Linked DNA regions of Homo sapiens: regions 1 and 3 are each linked to region 2. The links are contacts of gene promoters, found by promoter capture Hi-C in human tissues and cell types (Jung and others, 2019). All regions are on one chromosome and are shown on one strand. The core of a region is centred on a gene start or on the middle of the fragment in contact, and the rest is flanking DNA. Distances in the headings are between cores, read along the strand shown.

Region 1 (3,590 bases), core at 417-2,916, 240 kb before region 2:
ACTGTCTGGCTTGTGCATTTATTGAGTTTAATGCCACAGTTAGTCTTCCCAAGGGAGTTAAAGTTCAAGGATCTGGCTTTGGATCTAATATTAGTCAGCTGGGACTGGGTGGTACTTGCTAGAGGTACACCAAGAACATCATGGAGAGGTGTGTCACTGAGGTAGCATGGAGAAATGAAGGGTTTTCTTGGACTTTTGGGAATTTCTAGAGATTCTTGAGATATCCTACAGATTATTTAAAGAGGCCCCAAAATTTAAAAAGGCTACTTCGTCCCAGACAAGCATGATGTCACTATATGCTACAGCTCTAAGTGAGACTTAGTCCCATTTATTTTACTGATTAAAAAAAAAAAACAAAAAAAACCTGGCCGGGCACAGTGGCTCACGCCCGTAATCCCAGCACTTTGGGAGGCTGAGGAGGGTGGGTCACCTGAGGTCAGGAGTTCAAGACCAGCCTGGCCAACATGGTGAAACCCTGTCTCTATTAAAAATACAAAAATTATCCAGGTGTGGTGGCAGGCACCTATAATCCCAGCTACTCGGGAGGCTGAGGCAGGAGAATCACTTAAACCTGTGAGGCAGAGGTTGCAGTGAGCCAAGATCCCACCATTGTACTCCAGCCTGGGCGATAGTCTTTTTTGAGACTCAGTCTCAAAAAAAAAAAAAAAGAAAGAAAGAAAAAGAAAAAGACAAAGAAAACTGAGGAGCAGCAAATAACTTGTGATTTTAAAAATTGAGTCCAGTTAGTTGTACACCAAGAACTAGAAATAATCTCCTTTCCCCAACCAGTGCTCCATCTGCCAGACTCACTGCCTCCTTGCCCTTGGGCCCAATGCTGAGAGATTTCCTATGAATTCAGTGGCGTCTGTGCAGCGAGAAAGAAAGTGGGCAGGTAGACTAGCCCCTGACTCCTGTCCACATGACATCTCCCTTTGTCCCACTTGGCCTCTGTCCTTCCAGTGCAACACCTGTCTTAGGATACTCTGTTGTCTAAAAAAATCAATGTCACTGCTGATGACATCTCTATCTTCTCCTTGAGTTTAGTAGTCAAGCAACCTCCACTTTGCATCCACCCCTCACCCCTCTTGTCCTCCATTCTCATCTGCATTGCTCACCTCTTCAGGAAGATGTTGGGGGCTATGGATGGTCTGTTCCATGTCTGGTTCTGCCCCTGGTGCCATTTGACACTGGCCATGAGTAGGATGTTGGGGAGGGGCAGGCAGGGTACCGAGGAGGTCACCCCCAGGGCCATGGTGTTGGAAGCTTTGTAGACGTCTCTCCAATTCCTGCCCCTTTTGACCTGCAACACAGCCCCCAGGCACAACCTGAGCATTTGGCAAAAGCTGCAGTCTGTTTCAGCCCAGGGTTTCTCAACCTCGACACTATTAATGTTTTGGGTTGGATATTCTTTGTTGAGGGTAGGATACTGCCCTGCACACTAAAGAATGCTTAGTAGCATCCTTGACCTCTACCTACTAGTTCTAGTAGCACTACCAGCCAAATCGTGACAATAAAAAATGTCTCCAGACATCGTCAAATGTTCCCTGGCAGTTGGGGCCAAAAATCAATTCTTGTTGATAGCCACTATATTGATTAAACAACTACTAGTATTTAAACAATATTTCAACCACCCATTTGTTAACAATTGCCCACAGGAATTACAACCCAGGAGTTCCCTGCCATCTGTCATTTCTGCCAATCCTCCCTGGACTGTTTCCTGGCCTTCTTTGAAAAATGTATCCTCTTGGTCCTTCCCCGAGGTGCCCTATTATCTCCTGCACCTTCACTGAACAGGAAGGTCCTCTCTAACTCCAAAGTGCTGTTCATTCTCGCTTCCATCCAACCAGAGGAGAGCCCAGGCAAGGAGACGAACGTGCACCGAGTGCCTGTTAGACAAGGTACTTTTCTTGCTGTATTTGCATTTCATCCTCAGGTCAGTTCAACCCTTTTACAATCAAGGGGCCAGATTCAGGCTGCACAGGTTACTTGCACAGTCACCTCCCAAGGAGAAGGCAGAGGACTGGAATCTGAGCCCAGCTGTCTCTGGGACCCCAGGTGCTGTTCTTTCGCCAATCCGCATTATTGTTCTCAAGAAGCGTCTCTTTTTACTGCCTCTTTGTTCATCTACTTCAGGTGACAGCCTGGGGGCTGAAGTAAACTGGGGGATTAGATACCAAATTCTCCACTCAGAGCAGAGGACCCCTGACCTTTCTCCCTGGGTGACAGCTGTCTGTAGGAGAAGCCCCGTCTGGGGCTCAGCAAAGCCCAGGTCAGTGAGGGTGGCCTTGCATTCCAGGTCCACTAGCTTCTCCTTGCCTCAATTCTCACTCTGCCCCAGTTTCAGGGATGGACTCTCTCAGTCATATCTTGGGAACAGGTTTCGAAGAATCAAAGAGTGCTATTCTGCGCCACCCAAGAATACCTGGATGAAGTTGCTTTCAAACACCACGGAGTCAAGAAACAGGTTGAATTCTGGAGAATGAACCACCCGGCAGAGCAGTCCCTCCTCCACACCTAGGCCCGCTCCAGGGTTCGGCTCTCCATCCACAGGCAAGAGGCCCCTGAATTCTTCCCAGGCATTCAGGGAAGGGAAGGTTGGATAGGATCTTGTGACTTTTACTGTCTTCTTTGATTTCCTCCAAGTCTTTCTATGTGGAAATGATGACAACATTTCTACACATGCTCAGGGGCCTGCTGCACATTTGTCCTGGGATCTCTGTCTCCCCTCCTGGCCTTGGGCAGCTGGCCAAGCCCTGGGACCACCAGTCAGCTCACAATGATGAATGGATGACATCATGAAAAACCAGGACAGACCTGCAGGAAGGGGAAGTGCAAAGGAGCCTCCCTTTTCCTCCAGAGAGCTTGTGTGCCTTATCCGTGCCTGGACATTCCCCAGCCCTTTTCGGAACCCCAGGACATAGTCCTCCCGGAACTTGCTGAGAAAGCAGTGAGCCAGGCAGAAAGCAAGCAAGGAGGGCTGTCAGGAAGATCCTTCCACTGCTAAGAGGAAAATGCCCTTCCTGCCTTTCAACCCTTCCTTACTCTGAATGCAACCTATCTCACACAACTTTAAAAGCTGCATGTCCATTGAAAACCCCATCTTCCTAAGCTTTGCAGCATGTGGGCCCCCGACACCCTGGTGGATCTGCAGGTTATGGAAGCAGTTGCAGGGCAGTTGGTGCCTGCTCTGCATTCTGCCGCGGCAGGCTGGTTACTTCTGCAGGACTTACTTCCCTTAGGAGGTCAAACTGAAGAAGCAGGAGAAGTAATTAGTTTCTTATCCAGAGGCTGGCTTTGTCAGGGCGCTGGCTGGGAGGAATAGAACCCCGATGAGCAGCTCTGCTAGGTCCCAAGCTGTTCCCCCTCTTGGAGAGTGACAGCATCCCTCACCCCTGAACCAGAGGAGGAAAGAGCCCAAATCATGGGCTGCTAGGTCAGGAAGAAAGAACCAAGCAGGCTGACCACTATTCAAGGCCATTCCTGGGAGAAACTGTTTTCTAATTTGGACCAAATTCTAAATTTTTTTTTTTTTTGAGATGGAGTCTCGCTCTTGTTGCTCAGGCTGGAGTACAATGTGCGCGATCTCGGCT
Region 2 (3,148 bases), core at 516-3,015:
CTTTGGGAGGCTAAGATGGGCGGATCACGAGGTCAGGAGATTGAGACCATCCTGGCCAGCATGGTGAAACCCCATCTGTACCAAAATACAAAAAATTAGCCAGGCATGGTGGTGCACACCTGTAGTCCCAGCTACTCGGGAGGCTGAGGCAGGGGAATCGCTTCAACCAGGGAGGAGGAGATTGCAGTGAGCTGAGATCGCGCCACTGCACTCCAGCCTGGTGACAGAGCGAGACTCCGCCTCCAAAAAAAAAAAAAAAAGTATGGACAGTTTAAATGAAGGCTGTTTTTAAGGTGATCATGACAGTCCCAGATTTCAGTTTACTGCTCTTGCCAGTTCAGGGGGCCTTGACTAGTGTAGTAGAAAGAATAAAAACCTAACAAATTGAGCAGGACGGTGACAATGGAAGTTGGAATCCACTAAGAAGTGTGTTAACAACTCACAACTCACCTGCTGAATCAACCAAGACTCCCTAAGAAACAGGATTTTAGTTCCACTACTGCTACTACTGACTGCTTACCTCTGGGAAAAGCACTTAATGTCCTGTGGTCCAAGTGTCTTTAACTATAAAAAGAGAATATTGAACCACATGATTTTCAAAATCCCTTTTAACTATTAACTTGCTTTGATCTAGTTGCTGTCAGACTATGCAGGGTGAATGTTTTGTAACTGGAACCTTTTTGTTGTACAGAACTCTTTCAGCAGGTACTAAATTTGTAGTGCTATCTTCAATTGTCTGGAACAATCAGTCCTAGTTTTACTATCTAGGGATATTTTGCAGTGAAATCATCAACCTCTCAAGCAGGGGCCTCCTTTTCTTTGGCCAGACTTATCTCCACTCTGCTGCATCCACCTTTCCTTGACTGAAGCCCTAAATTCTCATAACCATCACACAAGTAATAGACACACAGTCACCAGTCATTAGCCCCCCTCCCAACAATATTTAGAATCTAATCACTTAAATGAAGCTTCAATGGAAACATCTCCTCATGGAAAATGCAAATCATGTAAAAAGTACAGGTTCTAAGATGATCGCGTGACCACACAGTTGTCATTGGCTAGCCATATCAACGTGGATCTACTCAACATAATTAAAGACAAAATTACCCTCCTCCAAAGTAAAACTATATATTAAAAAAACCCTCTACGACTTAAGATTTTGTTACAATGCAGCCCTTTTCCCTCCTTGCTCATCCCCTCCCTGTCCTGCTCTACTCCTGAGATCCGCATCAGGCCAGGAATAAAGGATGTGGGCGGCCGCGGTTCCCTGGCCTCTCCGGGAGGGCGCGTTCGGCAGTACGCTGGCTGTTGATACCAACGAGAGCCCATTTAAGCGCACCTTGTTTCTCCTGGCACACCCGCTGGATACTGTTCTCCTGGACTTTTCTCTCCGCCGCCGCGGCTTGCTCTTCCGACCACTCCACATTGTCCCTGAGAAAATCAAACGGGCAGCTTAGGGGCTTCACGTCCTGGCTGCGAGCAGGGTGAGTCGCTGGCCTAGGAGTTTCTCTCCCCTTGGAGAGTGCCTCGGGTAGGGCAGCTTGACTCGTGGCCGGCGGTCAGGGGCTTTTCGGAATGCTCCGAGGCGGCGGGACAGACGGCCAGCGACAGGCCGGGCGAGGGGGCAGGGTGATTACCAGGCATTGTGGTGGAAGACGCGCGCCGGATCGCTCAGGAACCGGCTTCCGAACTGCTGCCTCTTATCGGCGAGGATTGCAGGTGCACCTTCAGGGTAGGAGCCGGCCATGACACCGGAGCCGGAAACACTTCACTTTCCGTAACGCGAGAACTTCCTGCGGGCCACGCCCTCTTTCAGAAGACGTGGAGTCTGGGCGGGAAAAAGGGTGGCGGGACAGGGCGGTCCTGGAGTCTGGTCCGGGTGGCGCTCGGGAGCTGTCGTTTGGGGCTTTCCCAGGGTTGGCGAAGGGCTCTCTAGGGAAGGGGACCAGGCAGGGGGAAATTCTCCCCGGAGGAGTCGTATCTCATTGATGAGGTGCTGATGGACGTGCAGGTTAGGCAGAAAGTGGGAGACATTCCACTTGAGGCCCAGTTCATTGCTGGGATCCTCTTAACAGGTTCCCCAGCTTCCCTCAAGTTGTAAAACAGGAATAATCTTGAATCATTATAAGAGTTGAGGCTACCTAGTTCCACTGCGGAGCCGATGTCCAGAACTGAAGAAGGTAGCAAGCAGCGGAAAGAAACAGGGCAATTTCCAGCTTCTATAGTCAGCTCTTCATAGTGTGGGTGTATATGTATACACAGTGTGTATATATATTTTGGTTGGGGTGGGGGAGATGGATATATGAAATTAGAGAACACGAGGCTTAGCAAATCAAATGGAATATCCAAGGACAATTTTTTTTTAATTATAACCATCTAACCTTTTTGAATCATCCATATTATATTTATTATAATTATCCTTATTAGCACAATTAAGATTGTAATACACACATACAGTTTGTCATAGTAATACATTTCAGCCTTACATTTCTATTTCTAGATCTAATACAAATAGACTCTCAAAAGAATCTAGAAGAAAGTATGTTATAGACATAAGGTTATTTGAGAAGACTTCCAAGAGAAGCATGATGAATACCACTTGGAAAAGAAGGAAAGGGCAGAGACCAAACAAGGACCAGCCCAATATCTCTTGGACTTTATTTAATGTCATAATGTCAGAATAAAGGGAAAGATGAATTTTTTTAAAAAAGGAAAGGGTTAGTGCAGTGCTAGACATAGCACATTGGTAATTAGTACTTTTTTTTTTTTTTTTTTGAGACGGAGTCTTGCTCTGTTTCCCAGGCTGGAGTGCAGTAGCTGGATCTCAGCTCGTTATAACCTCCATGTCCTGGGCTCAGGTGATTCTCCTGCCTCAGCCTCCTGAGTAGCCGGGATTACAGGTGCGCGCTACCACACTCGGCTAATTTTTGTATTTTTAGTAGAGATGGGGTTTCACCATGTTGCCTGGGCTGGTCCTGAACTCCTGACCTCAAATGATCTGCCCACCTCGGTCTCCCAAAGTGTTGGGATTACAGGTGTGAGCCACCGTGCCCAGCCAGTAATTGTTTATTCCATTGTAAATTCTTTCTGTAGGTAAAACTACAGGGAGCAATGAATGATTCTATACTTTTCCTCCAAAGAAATGGGA
Region 3 (3,594 bases), core at 662-3,161, 140 kb after region 2:
GTTTTTGCTTTTTCTTTTCTTTATACTTTCTCCTGTTATATGCAGTAAGAAAAATATACGAAATTCTGTAAAACCGATGAAACCAAGAACTTGGAGTATTGGTTACTTTTGTTAAAATAACATTGTTTTGGATATTAAATGAATTCCTCCTTTCTTTACCTCCCTCCATAGGTGAGGAAAAGAGCCATGAATCTAAACATCAGGAATCAGTTAAAAAGAAGGGCAGAGAGGAAGAGGATATGGAAGAGGAAGAAAACGATGATGATGACGATGATGATGATGAAGAAGATGGGGTTTTTGATGATGAAGATGAAGAGGAAGAGAATATAGAATCAAAGGTGACCAAGCCTGTGCAAATTCAGAAGAGGTAAGCAGCTCATCCTGTTCTGAGACAGCAGAGGAAGATTCAAGATTGTCTCCGAGAGGAAAAATTCTCCTTTTTCTGCCTGCATCATTGCAGAATTGACATGTGTAATGAAATTGAATAGGCCCTCTGTCAGCCCACCTCCTTAGTTCTGATCTGTGCCATTGCAGAGCAGTCAAGAGACCAGCCCCTGCAAAAAGCAGTGATCATTCTGAGGAGGACAGTGACCTAGAGGAAAGCGATAGTATTGATGATGGAGAGGAACTGGCTCAGAGTGATACCAGCACTGAGGAGCAAGAGGATAAAGGTTTGTTTGGATTTTCATAAATGTCTTTAGACTTTAAAAAAGTTACTGAAGTTACGGAAATGAGCATCAGTTCTGCTTAGATCTCTTTTTAAATAGGACTCTAAGGTGTTCTATCAAATTTATGTTTAAATGCTGAAAAGGAAACCTTTATACTCCTTTCTTCCAAAGGTTTTTTTGTTGTTTCCTTTTTGTTTGTTTTGTTTTTTAAGTGAGTTTTGGAGTGGTGTTTGAGGGTTAAGATTCTTAGGGAATTGAAAACCTAGCTTAATGCTGAGGTTCTACCTCTCTCTGGATTGTCCAACTTGATAGAATAACCAGGTAAACAGCATCTTATACAGATAATATAGATGAAACAGATGATATAACCATCTCAACATCAAGCTAGATTTTAAACAACTCCTTGGAGTTGAGATGGGGATAAAGAACTGTTTAGTCAGTTTGGACTGACATAACAAAATACCATAAACTGGGTGGCTTAAACAGCAGAAACTTATTTTCTCACAGCTCTAGAGGCTAGAAGTCCCAGGTGCCAGCTGATTCATTTTGGGTGCAGCTCTCTTCCTAGCTTGCAGACTGCTGCCTTCTCGCTATGTGCTTGCATGGCCTTTTCTTTGTGGCTTGACGAGGGGAGAGAGAGAACAAGTAACAGTGAACTCTGGTCTCTCTTTTCTTATAAGCACAGCAATCCTATCAGATTAGGGCCCAACCTTAAGACCTCATTTAGCTAGCCTCAGTTACCTCCCTAAAGTCTCTGTCTCCAAATACAATTATATTTGGGGTTAGGGCTTCAATGTATGAATTTTGGGGGAACACAGTGCGTTCCATAACAAGGACCTCTTTGAACATGTTGTAAAACTTTAGCCAATCCTTATTGCTACCTTTATTGAGAATAAATTCAACTTGTTTATTGAGGAAGGCAGGTCATTACAGAATGAGAAATGGCTAATAACTGGTTCTTTGATTTGTCTGGGTGGAGATTTTTATTTCAGCTGTTTTTATTCTGATTCCATTTCAGTAAGTCTGACATGTTGGTTTGACCATATAAGAAATCTGAGGAAATAAGCTTTTTCTGTGAGGAGAGAATGGTATACACCTTAGAATCAAAGAAGCTTCTACACTGAAGGGACTCTGAGATCCTGTATTCTACAACCCACAGTCAGCTGTCTCATGCCATTCTTTCACCTAAAAAACTTATAGGACAGATAAATGATAATGATAAAAAGTTAAAACACAACACAGAAGAGTGTAATACACAAAGTAGAAGTTTCTCACCAATCCTAACAATTCCCTGAAGTAATCACTGTTGTTTCTTGTGCATCCTTCCAGATATTTTCTTTGTATGTATAAGCTTATATGTCTGTTCTTGAAAACAAACAGTGAGTCTCCCTTATACCCAGATCCTCAGCTTCTTAGGGAACTTCCCCAGAGACAACCAAGGTTATTTGTTTCTTGTGTATCTATAGATATTTTAATACATTTATAAGCAAAATGCACACATATACACACACATATACACATTCAAAATGTAGTGTATTTTATAATTTGTGTGTGATTGTATGTGTATGTTTTTTCCTCAAAGTTTCCTATGTCCTATACAGTATTTCCAGAAAGTTTACACTGTCATAGTAGTATATGGAAATGTCTTTTTCCCATAACCTTACCACATTGGATTCCATCAGTCTTTTTGATTTTGCAATCTGTTGGTGAAAAATAGTATCTCATTTCTTGTGCTATGTTTTCTTTAATTAAGAGTGAGTTTGAACATCTTTTCATATACTTAGCATGTCCTTTGTCTATTTTTATTTTTATTTATTTATTTTTTTTGAGACTTTGTTTCGCTCTTGTCACCGTGGCTGGAGTGCAATGGCTCAATCTTGGCTCACTGCAACCTCCACCTCCCAGGTTCAAGGGATTCTCCTGCCTCAGCCTCCTGAGTAGCTGGGACTATAGGTGCCTGCTACCACGCCTGGCTAATTTTTGTATTTTTAGTAGAGACAGGGTTTTGCCATGTTGGCCAGGCTGGTCTCGAACTCCTGACCTCAGGTGATCAGCCCGCCTGGGCTTTTCAAAGTGGCATGAGCCACTGCGCCAGGCTTATCTTTATGTACTTAAGAAGTTAGCTCTTTGTCATGTGGCTTACACTAATCTCTTTCAGTTTGTTGTTTTTCTTTTTACCTTAGCTGTGCAAGTCTCAAACAAAAAGAAGAGGAAATTACCCTCTGATGTGAATGAAGGGAAAACTGTTTTTATCAGGTATGTCTTTCTGCCTCCAGAATTGCTTTTGCGTGGTCTTCATAGATCTCTCTTCCTTCTTCTTCTCTTTTTGGCACTAGTTCTGTTACCTAGCCCAGAAATTAGATCAAGCACATCTGGTCCCAGGAACATACTAAACAATGAGAAATGTAGGACAATCAGAACTATAACACAGAAGACAGATAGCATGGGTCCTGACATCACGTTTTCATTTAGATTTCATGCTTTGTAATTGGGTTGGCATCATTTGGAAGAAATCAGTTCAACTGTTAGAAACATCTTGCTTCCGGCCTTTGTTTTAGGGGGAGTGCTGGAGAGGATTGACACTGCTTGTCTCAAATGATTTCTGTCTTTATGCCTAACTTATCTTCTGATGCAGTGTCCAGAATAAAGTAAGGCATCTCATCTGTTTCCAGGAAAACTAGGTGGGAGTGGGGGTGGCAATAGGCTTTATTTCGTGTTGCTGTTGTGTTTTAGCTCTACTGACTGCAATAGATTGCTGCTTTTATGAGGTCAGGATGTCTTCAGTATACCTCAGGCCTGCCTTCTAGTCCTTAAGTACCAGTGTACTAGGGTCATTTGCATCCGATTTTAGAGTTATATATTTTATCTTCTTGTACAATCTTTTAGAATTATTTTCTTGGGTGCGGTGGCTCAGGCCTGTAATCTC

Evidence for each region. The method cuts DNA at HindIII sites, captures the fragments that hold promoters and counts their contacts. A contact is called where the count stands out against the background at its distance.
Region 1: a fragment that was not itself captured here is called in contact with the fragment with the promoter of METTL2B in region 2 in 2 of the 25 tissues and cell types used here (aorta and bladder).
Region 3: a contact is called between a fragment that was not itself captured here and the fragment with the promoter of METTL2B in region 2, in 1 of the 25 tissues and cell types used here (adrenal gland).

The regions. Positions count from the first base shown.
Region 1 is chr7:128,714,523-128,718,112 of GRCh38, reverse strand. It overlaps GARIN1B (golgi associated RAB2 interactor 1B), which reads right to left and starts at 2,722. Exons shown (of 7, transcript NM_001282788.3): 1 at 2,423-2,722; 2 at 1,116-1,300. The coding sequence starts at 2,671. The HindIII fragment of the contact is 6,852 bases long and covers 1-3,590 here.
Region 2 is chr7:128,475,365-128,478,512 of GRCh38, reverse strand. METTL2B (methyltransferase 2B, tRNA N3-cytidine) reads right to left here and starts at 1,765. Exons shown (of 9, transcript NM_018396.3): 1 at 1,638-1,765; 2 at 1,340-1,431. The coding sequence starts at 1,747. RefSeq lists enhancers at 1,489-1,658, 1,879-1,928. The HindIII fragment of the contact is 14,580 bases long and covers 1-3,148 here.
Region 3 is chr7:128,332,620-128,336,213 of GRCh38, reverse strand. It overlaps RBM28 (RNA binding motif protein 28), which reads left to right. Exons shown (of 19, transcript NM_018077.3): 7 at 172-367; 8 at 535-671; 9 at 2,852-2,924. Among named protein-coding and RNA genes, the nearest start is that of RBM28, 9.5 kb to the left of the region's middle. The HindIII fragment of the contact is 4,118 bases long and covers 1-3,594 here.